Linked DNA regions of Homo sapiens: region 2 is linked to region 1. Evidence: promoter capture Hi-C in human tissues and cell types (Jung and others, 2019). All regions are on one chromosome and are shown on one strand. The core of a region is centred on a gene start or on the middle of the fragment in contact, and the rest is flanking DNA. Distances in the headings are between cores, read along the strand shown. Region 1 holds the start of FOXF1 (forkhead box F1). Region 2 has its middle 21 kb from the start of LINC02181.

The links. Contacts are between HindIII fragments. The study calls those that stand out against the background at their distance.
Region 2: a fragment that was not itself captured here is called in contact with the fragment with the promoter of FOXF1 in region 1 in 1 of the 25 tissues and cell types used here (dorsolateral prefrontal cortex).

Annotation. Positions count from the first base shown.
Region 1 is chr16:86,507,982-86,512,069 of GRCh38, reverse strand. FOXF1 (forkhead box F1) reads right to left here and starts at 1,543. Exons shown (of 2, transcript NM_001451.3): 1 at 522-1,543. The coding sequence starts at 1,500. FENDRR (FOXF1 adjacent non-coding developmental regulatory RNA) reads left to right here and starts at 3,210. Exons shown (of 4, transcript NR_033925.1): 1 at 3,210-3,415. RefSeq lists an enhancer at 1-50. The HindIII fragment of the contact is 9,827 bases long and covers 1-4,088 here.
Region 2 is chr16:87,034,636-87,038,955 of GRCh38, reverse strand. No RefSeq gene overlaps it. Among named protein-coding and RNA genes, the nearest start is that of LINC02181, 21 kb to the left of the region's middle. The HindIII fragment of the contact is 9,812 bases long and covers 1-4,320 here.

The sequences.
Region 1 (4,088 bases), core at 294-2,793:
CCAGGTCTGGTCCCCTGAAAGGCCGGGGCTGAGCCTCTGAGCGCTGGCCCAGCGGCTTTGGGCCTAACACCTTCCGTTCCGCCCAGCCCCAGGCAGAGGCAGCCCTCCAGGCAGCCTGAGGGCCACCACCAGGGAGGGACAGCCATCTGGCCAGCGCTGGGAGCCTTGGGTCCATCCCAGGATCTTTCCAAGCTGTGAGGGGACTTAAGGGACACAAAAGGACTTAGGGCACTGGGGTCTGGGACATCTGGCTCAGGACCAGCCTACCTGGTCAGGCCTGGAGCAGCTGGCAGCTGGAGTTCGAACAGAAAGAGAAACAGATTGGCCCAAACTAGGGTCAAGAGCGGTAGTCACTCTTCGAAGGGGGAGAGGTGGGGCCAAGAGACACCTTGGGGAGCTGGTGCCTCCCCTCAGCCTTGGGGTTCCGACCACAGAAGTGGAGGGGCTCGCCCCAGCTGGGTCCCGCTGCCACTCAGACTCGACTTCCCGGGGACCAGGGCGCCCTCGGCCTCCCCACTCACCTTGCAGCTCGGCTGGGGCGTTGTGGCTGTTCTGGTGCAGATACGGCTGCTCCAGGGAGTGCGTGGAGAGGCTGCCGGACAGGGGGTTGGCCGCGGGGTTACAGGGGGACAGGGGCTGCTGCTTGATATAAGAGGCGCCGCTGTTGAGCGCCGCGGACGCCGAGGGCGGCCAGGCCGCCGCCGAGCCCGAGTAGACGGCGTGCGGCTCCATGACCCCACCGGCGCCGGTGGGCAGCAGCGGGGAGGCGGGCACCGAGCTGTCGTGGTGCGGGTACTCGCCGGCCGCCGCGCCGCCGCAGCCGCCCATGTACGAGTGGCCGCCGTTGGAAGGCAGGTGGGGCACCGAGTGGCTGGGCAGGGCCATGCCGTCCACGTTGCCCGGCAAGTGGCCGTTCATCATGCCCAGGCCGCCCTCCAGCGCCAGGCTGTTGGGCGGGCACGAGAGGCCGCCGGCCGAGCCCTGGAAGCCGTAGGTGTCCGGGAGGTGGTTGAAGCCGAGCCCGTTCATCATGCTGTACATGGGCTTGAGCGCCTGGCATTTCCTTCGGAAGCCGCGCGGCCGCCGCCGAAAGGAGCCCTCCTCGAACATGAACTCGCTGGCCGGGTCGATGGTCCAGTAGTGGCCCTTGCCGGGCCGCCCAAGGCCCTTGGGTAGCTTGATGAAGCACTCGTTGAGCGAGAGGTTGTGGCGCACGGAGTTCTTCCAGCCCTGGTAGGAGCCCCGGAAGAAGGGGAAGCGGCTCTGCAGGAACTGGTAGATCTCGCTCAGCGTCAGGCGCTTGGTGGGTGAACTCTGGATGGCCATGACGATGAGCGCGATGTAGGAATAGGGCGGCTTCTCCGGGCGCCGGATGCCGGCGTTGGTCTTCTTGGCCTTGGACGGGCCGGACGACGCGGGGTCCATGGCCGCGCCGCCTCCCCCGCCGCCGCCGCCGCCGCCGCCGTGCGGTGGCTGCTGCTTCTCGGGCGCCGAAGACATCGGGTGGCTGCTGCCGCCGCCGCCGCTGCCGCCGCTGCTCTGCGCCGCGGACGGGCCGGGAGGAGGAGGAGGAGGAGGAGGAAGAGGACGACGGGGGGGAGGAGGGCGAAGGGGAGGGGGCTGCGCGCGCGGGGCTGGCTGCACCTCTGCCGTCATCGGCGGCCACTTCTCCCGAGCGAGCCGCGGCGCGCCCGCCCCCGCGCTCCCGCCCGCCCTCCCCGAGGAGCTGCTGGATCCGCCGGCGGTTGGCTCAGAGCCCCTCTCTCTCCAACTCCCGCCTCCCCCACCTCTCTCCTCCCTCTTTCTTTCTCGCCCTCCCACAAGGAAAGGAGCCGAGCTGAGGCCGAGGGCAGCCCGGGCGAAGGCCGTGAGGAAGCTACCCCCGCCGGTATTTTTTGGGGGGAGGCACCACCTCCAGGTCTTACGGCCGTGCGCCCCAGCCGGGAGCAGCCCTGAGTCCCCGCCGCCCGCGGCGCTCGGCTCCGAGATTCCGGGCGAGGCAGCCTTCACTCCATCTCCGCTCGGCTGCGTCTCGCGGGTCGGCCTAAGACCCTCCCGGAGTTCCCTCCCTCCGTCCCTGCCCCCCTCGGGCCCCCGCGTTGGTGGGCGCTTAAAGAGCCCCCACTCTCGCCGCCCCGCGGCCGCCAGCAGAATCCGCCCCGCCTCCACCAACCTGGCGAGCAAGTGTTAATGCGCCCTCCGCCCGCGGTTCAGCCCCGGTGCGCGCTGGACCCCGCCTTCCCCGCCCGGGCGGCGCGGCGGGAAACGCTCCCTGGGCCGGGGCCTTCCCCGACGCGCACAGCCCTGTAGCAAATCGCAAGTGCGGCGGCCTCCCGGTCGTGACCATCGCAGGCACAGCCGGCTCGACTCCGGTCCTCGCGGCCGGCCGGCTAAGTTCCCGCGAGGGACCGCCTACCCACTCTCCCCGCCCCGGGAAGAACTGCGCCGCTCCCGGGATTTTTCGGACTCGCCCAGCAGCTTGCGAGCGGGCGGGCAGCCGCCGGGGCAGAGCGCAGGCGGAAAACGAAAGCGCAGCACGAGTCGCGGCCGCTTTGTCTCGGGCGCCGCGGGCCTGACGGGGGCGAGTGAGAACCCGCTGGCCCAGAGGCGACCCAGACCGCACAGGCCCCTGAATAAGCGGCGTGCTCAGTCACTCACCCGTGCGCGCACACCCTCGCGCTCTTGTCCACACATTAGCACACACATACATGTCTTGATGCACATGCAAACCCGGTAAATTACGCAAACAGACGTGTAAACACACCCATGCGTGTGTGCACACTCATATGCAGAGGGCGCTCAGGCATGTGCGCACCCACTAATGCACTCGTTGACACGGAAGCTTAAGGCCCACAGGAGCTTAAGTTCGCACTCACTCCCACTCACGCGTACACACGCCACGCTCGGATCTGAACTCACACGTAGTTCAGTTGCCCTCCCCCACCCCCAACACACACTGAAAACCCGCCTATTTGGCCCCGCGGCCCCGTTTTCAAAGCGCAGGTTCCGATTTCCCGAGAGATGGCAAAGGCCCTGGCAGGAAGTTTACAGGGTTTAACGTAAACAAGTTCTGGGGGATTCTTTAATAATAATAATAGAGAATTCCGCGTGCGCAGGGCGGGAGGGGGGAGTTGGCCTAATGCCCCTGTGGGCTCGGCCTGCCGCCGCCGCGGGGCCTCTGACACTGCGCGCCAGGCCAGGTTCCTGAGAGCAGACAGCGCGGGCTGGGAGCGCCGGCAAGGGCGGCCCTCGCGCACCTGGCTGCCAGCCCGCAGGGGGCTCGCACGCAGACCTGCCCTTGCCACCTCAGCGCTCGGGTGCGGGCTGGGGGCGGTGGAGCCACGAAAGGTGGTGCCGAGAGCGGAGCGCAGGACAGCGCAGGAGCCCCGGCGCATCGCGGCGCGCACAGACCCAGGTGAGTGCTGCTCTCGCAGCGACTGCTGGCCGGGCGCGGCCTCTCCCTCCAGGGTTCCGAGTTGAGAAGAGGGGGGCGAGGGGTGTTTTCGCGGGTCATCGCGAAGAGCCTAGAGGCCAAGCCCCAGCGCGAGCTGGGGCGAGAGGCGTGTGCCGGGCTCGCAGCACGGCCCGCGGCGCGGCGCGTTCAAAGCCTACCCGCCTCTCGGTTTTCTCCGGACTCCTTGTCTCCCGCTAACTACCCGCCCCCACCTTCCTGGCTCGGACGCCTTCATTTTCGGCGGGAGACGCCTGTCGCCTTCGGGGCGCCTGGCACGTCGGTGAGAGGAGCTGGGGGGCTCGCCGGCGCAGCCTGCCGGGCAGTCGCCGCCTCCTCCGCCAGATCTGCGCTCGCGGGAGAAGAGAGCCGCCTTCCCGCGCTGCCCTTCCGCTGGCCTCTCTGGGTCTCCGCGTGCAGACAGCCTGGCCCGCCTAGGGAAAGAATGAGTGTGGGACGTGACCCGTAGTGTGTGGTTGTGCATTCACGCAGGTAAACGCTCTCTGGCAGACCCGCTACCACTTCACACAACCAGCTCAGCCTCCGCGCACACAGACACGCTCCGCACCGCCCACGGCCTCAAACACCCTTCCCAGCGACCCTCACACAGCTCAGGCGCTCCCAACCCTTGGACCAA
Region 2 (4,320 bases), core at 1,032-3,531, 530 kb before region 1:
TACTCATTGTCAGTGAGTTCTGATGTCAACTTTTTGCTTCCCTGCTGAGTACCTGGAAATAGGGTTTAACAAGCACGGGGCATAGAAGTCTGGGCACTGTTCCCCTTGCTGTGTGTTCCCTGCTGCTCTCAGTTTCCCTGGGAGGTCTTGTTTCAAAACCCTGAAGCCTATCTCACGTTAGTCCTTTACTTTTTCTTCTCCTTTCTTTTTTCTTTTCTTTTCCTTTCTCTTTCTCTTTCTCTTTCTCTCTCTCCCTTCCTTCCTTCCTTCCTTCCTTCCTTCCTTCCTTCCTTCCTTCCTTCCTTCCCTCCCTCCCTCCCTCCCTCCCTCCCTCCCTCCTTCCTTCCTTCCTTCCTTCCTTCCTTCCTTCCTTAGATGGAGTCTTGCTCTGTCACCCAGGCTGGAGTGCAGTGGCACGATTTTGGCTCACTGCAACTTCCACCTCCTGGGTTCAAGTGATTCTCGTGCCCCAACCTCCTGAGTAGCTGGGATTACAGGTGTGAGCCACCATGCCCAGCTAATTTTTGTATTTTTAGTAGAGCCAGGGTTTCACCATGTTGGCCAGGCTGGTCTTGAACTCCTGACCTAAGGTGAACTGCCCACCTTGGCCTCCCAAAGTTCTGGGATTACAAGAGTGAGTCACTGCGCCTAGCCCCTTTGCATTTTTTTATGAGCCTCTCAAAGCACTAACCTGAGGAATATAATGCTATGAATGGATTCCCTGGAAACCTTTTTCTTCCTCTCAAATGCTCTGTGTGGAGCTGGTAGTCAGCTCTCCTGCATAAGGAAAGTGGCTGCCTGGTGGTCTCTGTGCTGGTTCCCAGTAGGGTCTGCATTGTCTCTATAGGATCAAAATTATTTTGTTTTCCTTGGGAGTTGGAGAAGAGTTTTAAACTCTTTTGGTGGAAAAAGTTACTCCTGCTTGAAGTTCAAGCTGTAAATGGGCCCACCTGTGGTACATGAACTTCCCTTTGTAACACCGCTCAGTATCTCCCCAGTAACACAACCTCCTGGGCCTGGTCTGATTTCCATTTACTCCCTTATAGTGCTCCTGGATTGGTGAAATCCATGGGCCACTTTCATTTGACCTGATTGTCCTCACTGACCTTGCAGGCTCAGAGAAAAACAAGACATGTCATAAAAATGACAAGAATTCTTGAATTTGGAATCACCGAGGAGTTCATATAGTAAAATCCATCTATAAAGTTCCTTGTTCTGCTACTAATTTGGTCACTCTGTGGGTTAAAACATATGTACCCTGAGCCGGGCATGGTGGCTCACACGTGTAATCCCAGCAGTTTGGGAGGCTGAGGCAGGTGCATCACCTGAGGTCAGGAGCTCAAGACCAGCCTGGCCAACATGGTGAAACCCTGTCTCTACTTAAAATACAAAAAGTTAGCTGCTCATGGTGGCAGGTGCCTGTAATCCCAGCTACTAAGGAGGCTGAGGCAGGAAAATGGCTTGAACCCGGGAGGCAGAGGTTGCAGTGAGCTGAGATCATGCCATCGCACTCCAGCATGGGAAACAAGAGTGAAACTCTGTCTCAAAAAACAAACAACCAACCCCATATGTCCCCTGTCCTTTGTGGGTGTAGAGGTAGCTCAGGAGGGGCTATCGGGAGGTCTGGGCTGAAGCCCTTCCTCCACCCATGGGTGGGGTATGACCGTGTACAGGTTCTCACCAAGCCTTGTTTGTTTCACTCATGCCCTGGAGGAATGCCCTGGCATTCCCAGTCCGTGCTACAGAGCCCCGCACCAGGATCTGGTATCACCATTTCCACGTCGCGATGAGGTGTGTGCCTCTCTAAATATAAAACCAAGAGGAATATCACACTCTCTCAATGCCTGGAAAAACATTTCATTTCCCTCCCATCTGTGTGTTTCTCTAATCAGAGTGCATTTTGTCACTGATGAGCACATATAGGCTGGCATCTCTTTGCTCCTTAAAATCTCTTAGCCAGTTGATGGTGAATCACAATCGATGTTGCCTTAGGATAGAAGAAATACAGTAATCATGAGGAAGGCTGCTCATCGATGGCCCCTCTGTGCCACTTGGTTTTACTTCTATTCCCTCACTCAGTCTTCACCAGCAACCTGTGAGGAAGACTCAGGTGAAGCAGGTGCCGGTGTTTCCATTTTGTGGCATAGAATCGGAGAGAGTGAGTCGCGTCTCCAAACTCACACAGCTGGTAACTGTTTTGATTTTGAACTCAGATCTAACTGTAGGCTGAATGGAAGCCTTTTTCATAAAATGTAGCTGTACATTATCAGACATTTTCCATGGGTACTCTGTTGAGAAGCCTTATTAGCTATAATTGTGTGTGGGGCTGCCATAAAGTCCCACAGACTGGGAGGCTCAGACAGCAGAAATGCCCAGCTCCGGAGGCTGCAAGTCTGAGGTCAAGATGCCTACAGGGTTGGTTCCTCCAAGGCCCCCTCCTTGGCTCGCAGACGTACGTCTTCTCCCTGGGTCCTCACGGGGACTTCCTTCCGTGTCTGTGTCCTCCTAATTTTCTCCTCTTATGAGGACACACCGGTTCTATTGAATTGGGGCCCACCCTGATGACCTATTTTACTCTCATCATCTCTTTAAAGGCTGTGTCTCCAAAGACAGTCGTGTTCTGAGGGACTGGGGGTTAGGGTGCAACACGGGATCCTTGAGAGAATCCAGTTCAGCCCCTATTTGTGTTCTTTCTTCTTCTGCAGGGTGGTCCCTTCTATCTTTTTTTTTTTTTTTTTTTTTTGAGATGGAATCTCGTTCTGTCGCCCAGGCTGGACTGCAGTGGTGCGATCTTGGCTCACTCTGCCTCCCAGGTTCATGCCATTCTCTTGCCTCAGCCTCCCAAGTAGCTGGGACTACAGGCGCCCGCCACCACGCCTGGCTAATTTTTTGTATTTTTTTTTTAGTAGAGATGGGGTTTCACTGTGTTAGCCAGGATGGTCTTGATCTCCTGACCTCATGATCCACCCACCTTGGCCTCCCAAAGTGCTGGGATTGCAGGCCTGAGCCACTGCGCCTGGCGACTTCTATCTTATTTTATGGATCTATCTCTTATCCTCTGTTTTAGCAAGATGGAGTTTTCCATATTAGAAATAATCAATTATTGGTAATAAAACAATTTCTCTCCTGAACAAACGGAACCTTTTAATTTGGTTGTGTGGATGCGGTATTCTTACGTGTCTCAAGAGCTGGTTAAGTAACCACATGAATGACGTTCTTGTGCCTGCTGTGTCAGGCCGGAGGTGTCCGAAAATGGACACAGGGTGTTTTCCTCGTGGTGACTGTTCTCACACGTATTTCTTCCGTGCACATACAAGCACACATGTGCACACACACCAGTATCTCCCAAAATGTGTCCTAGGAAGGGCATCCTATGAGAGGAATTAATACATGTCTTAGAGAGGGAAAAGTTTTTTTAAAATTAAATGTAGTTGAGAATATTATGCTAGACCAAGTGGACTAGAGTTCCCTGTGGCAGGATCTCTCGGAGTGTTTAACGTGCTGACTCTCTAATTTGTGAATCTCTAAGGTCTTAGAGTTTGCTGACCCCTGCTCTGCTCTATCTCTAAAGGGCCAGCTAGTAAAGCTTTTGGCTTCGTGGGTCATCTGGGCTGTCGCAAGGACACACTGAGCTGTTGTGGCAGGCAGCTGCCATGGACAGTCTATAATCAAATGGGCATGGCTGTGTTCCAATAAAACTTTATTTATAAAAACACGTGGAGGGTCCAACATGGCCCCGGGACATGGTTGGCCAGCCCTGTCTTAGAGTACCTTGTGCTTTCCAAGCGTATTGGACCATGAAGTTCTTTGCCAAGTGTTGCTGATGTCCCACAGGACACTTCATTCAGCCAGGGCCTGGAATCACAGCCCTGGGGCATCGTCCCACTGTCCCATGCCCATCGTCCTGTTCCTGCCGATGCCATAGCATGAGGGGATGCTCTTTGAGTATGCTCATCTGAGGACTTGGATAAATCATCCAGACTCCTATTCGGAATTTCTCCTAAATGATCCAAACCACACTGGGCTGGAAAAATTGCCCAGATAGGGTTCGCATACGTGATTTTTTTTCAGTACTTCTTGGGATCGGCAGAACTTGAGGCATGTTTTGTTACAGTACTTAGTGACTCTGGAGAGACCATGCTTTATGGAGAGCCTGATTTTTCCTTCTTTCAAATTAGTCATTTTCGTGCTGTCCTTGGGGCCTGTGTGTGTATATTTGAGGAGGGTGAAAGCAGAGAAAGGGTTAAAGTGGGAAGGAGGTGTGAGTCAGGCCTCGCATTTGTCAGCTACCGTCACTTATATTTAAAAAGTGTTCAGTCT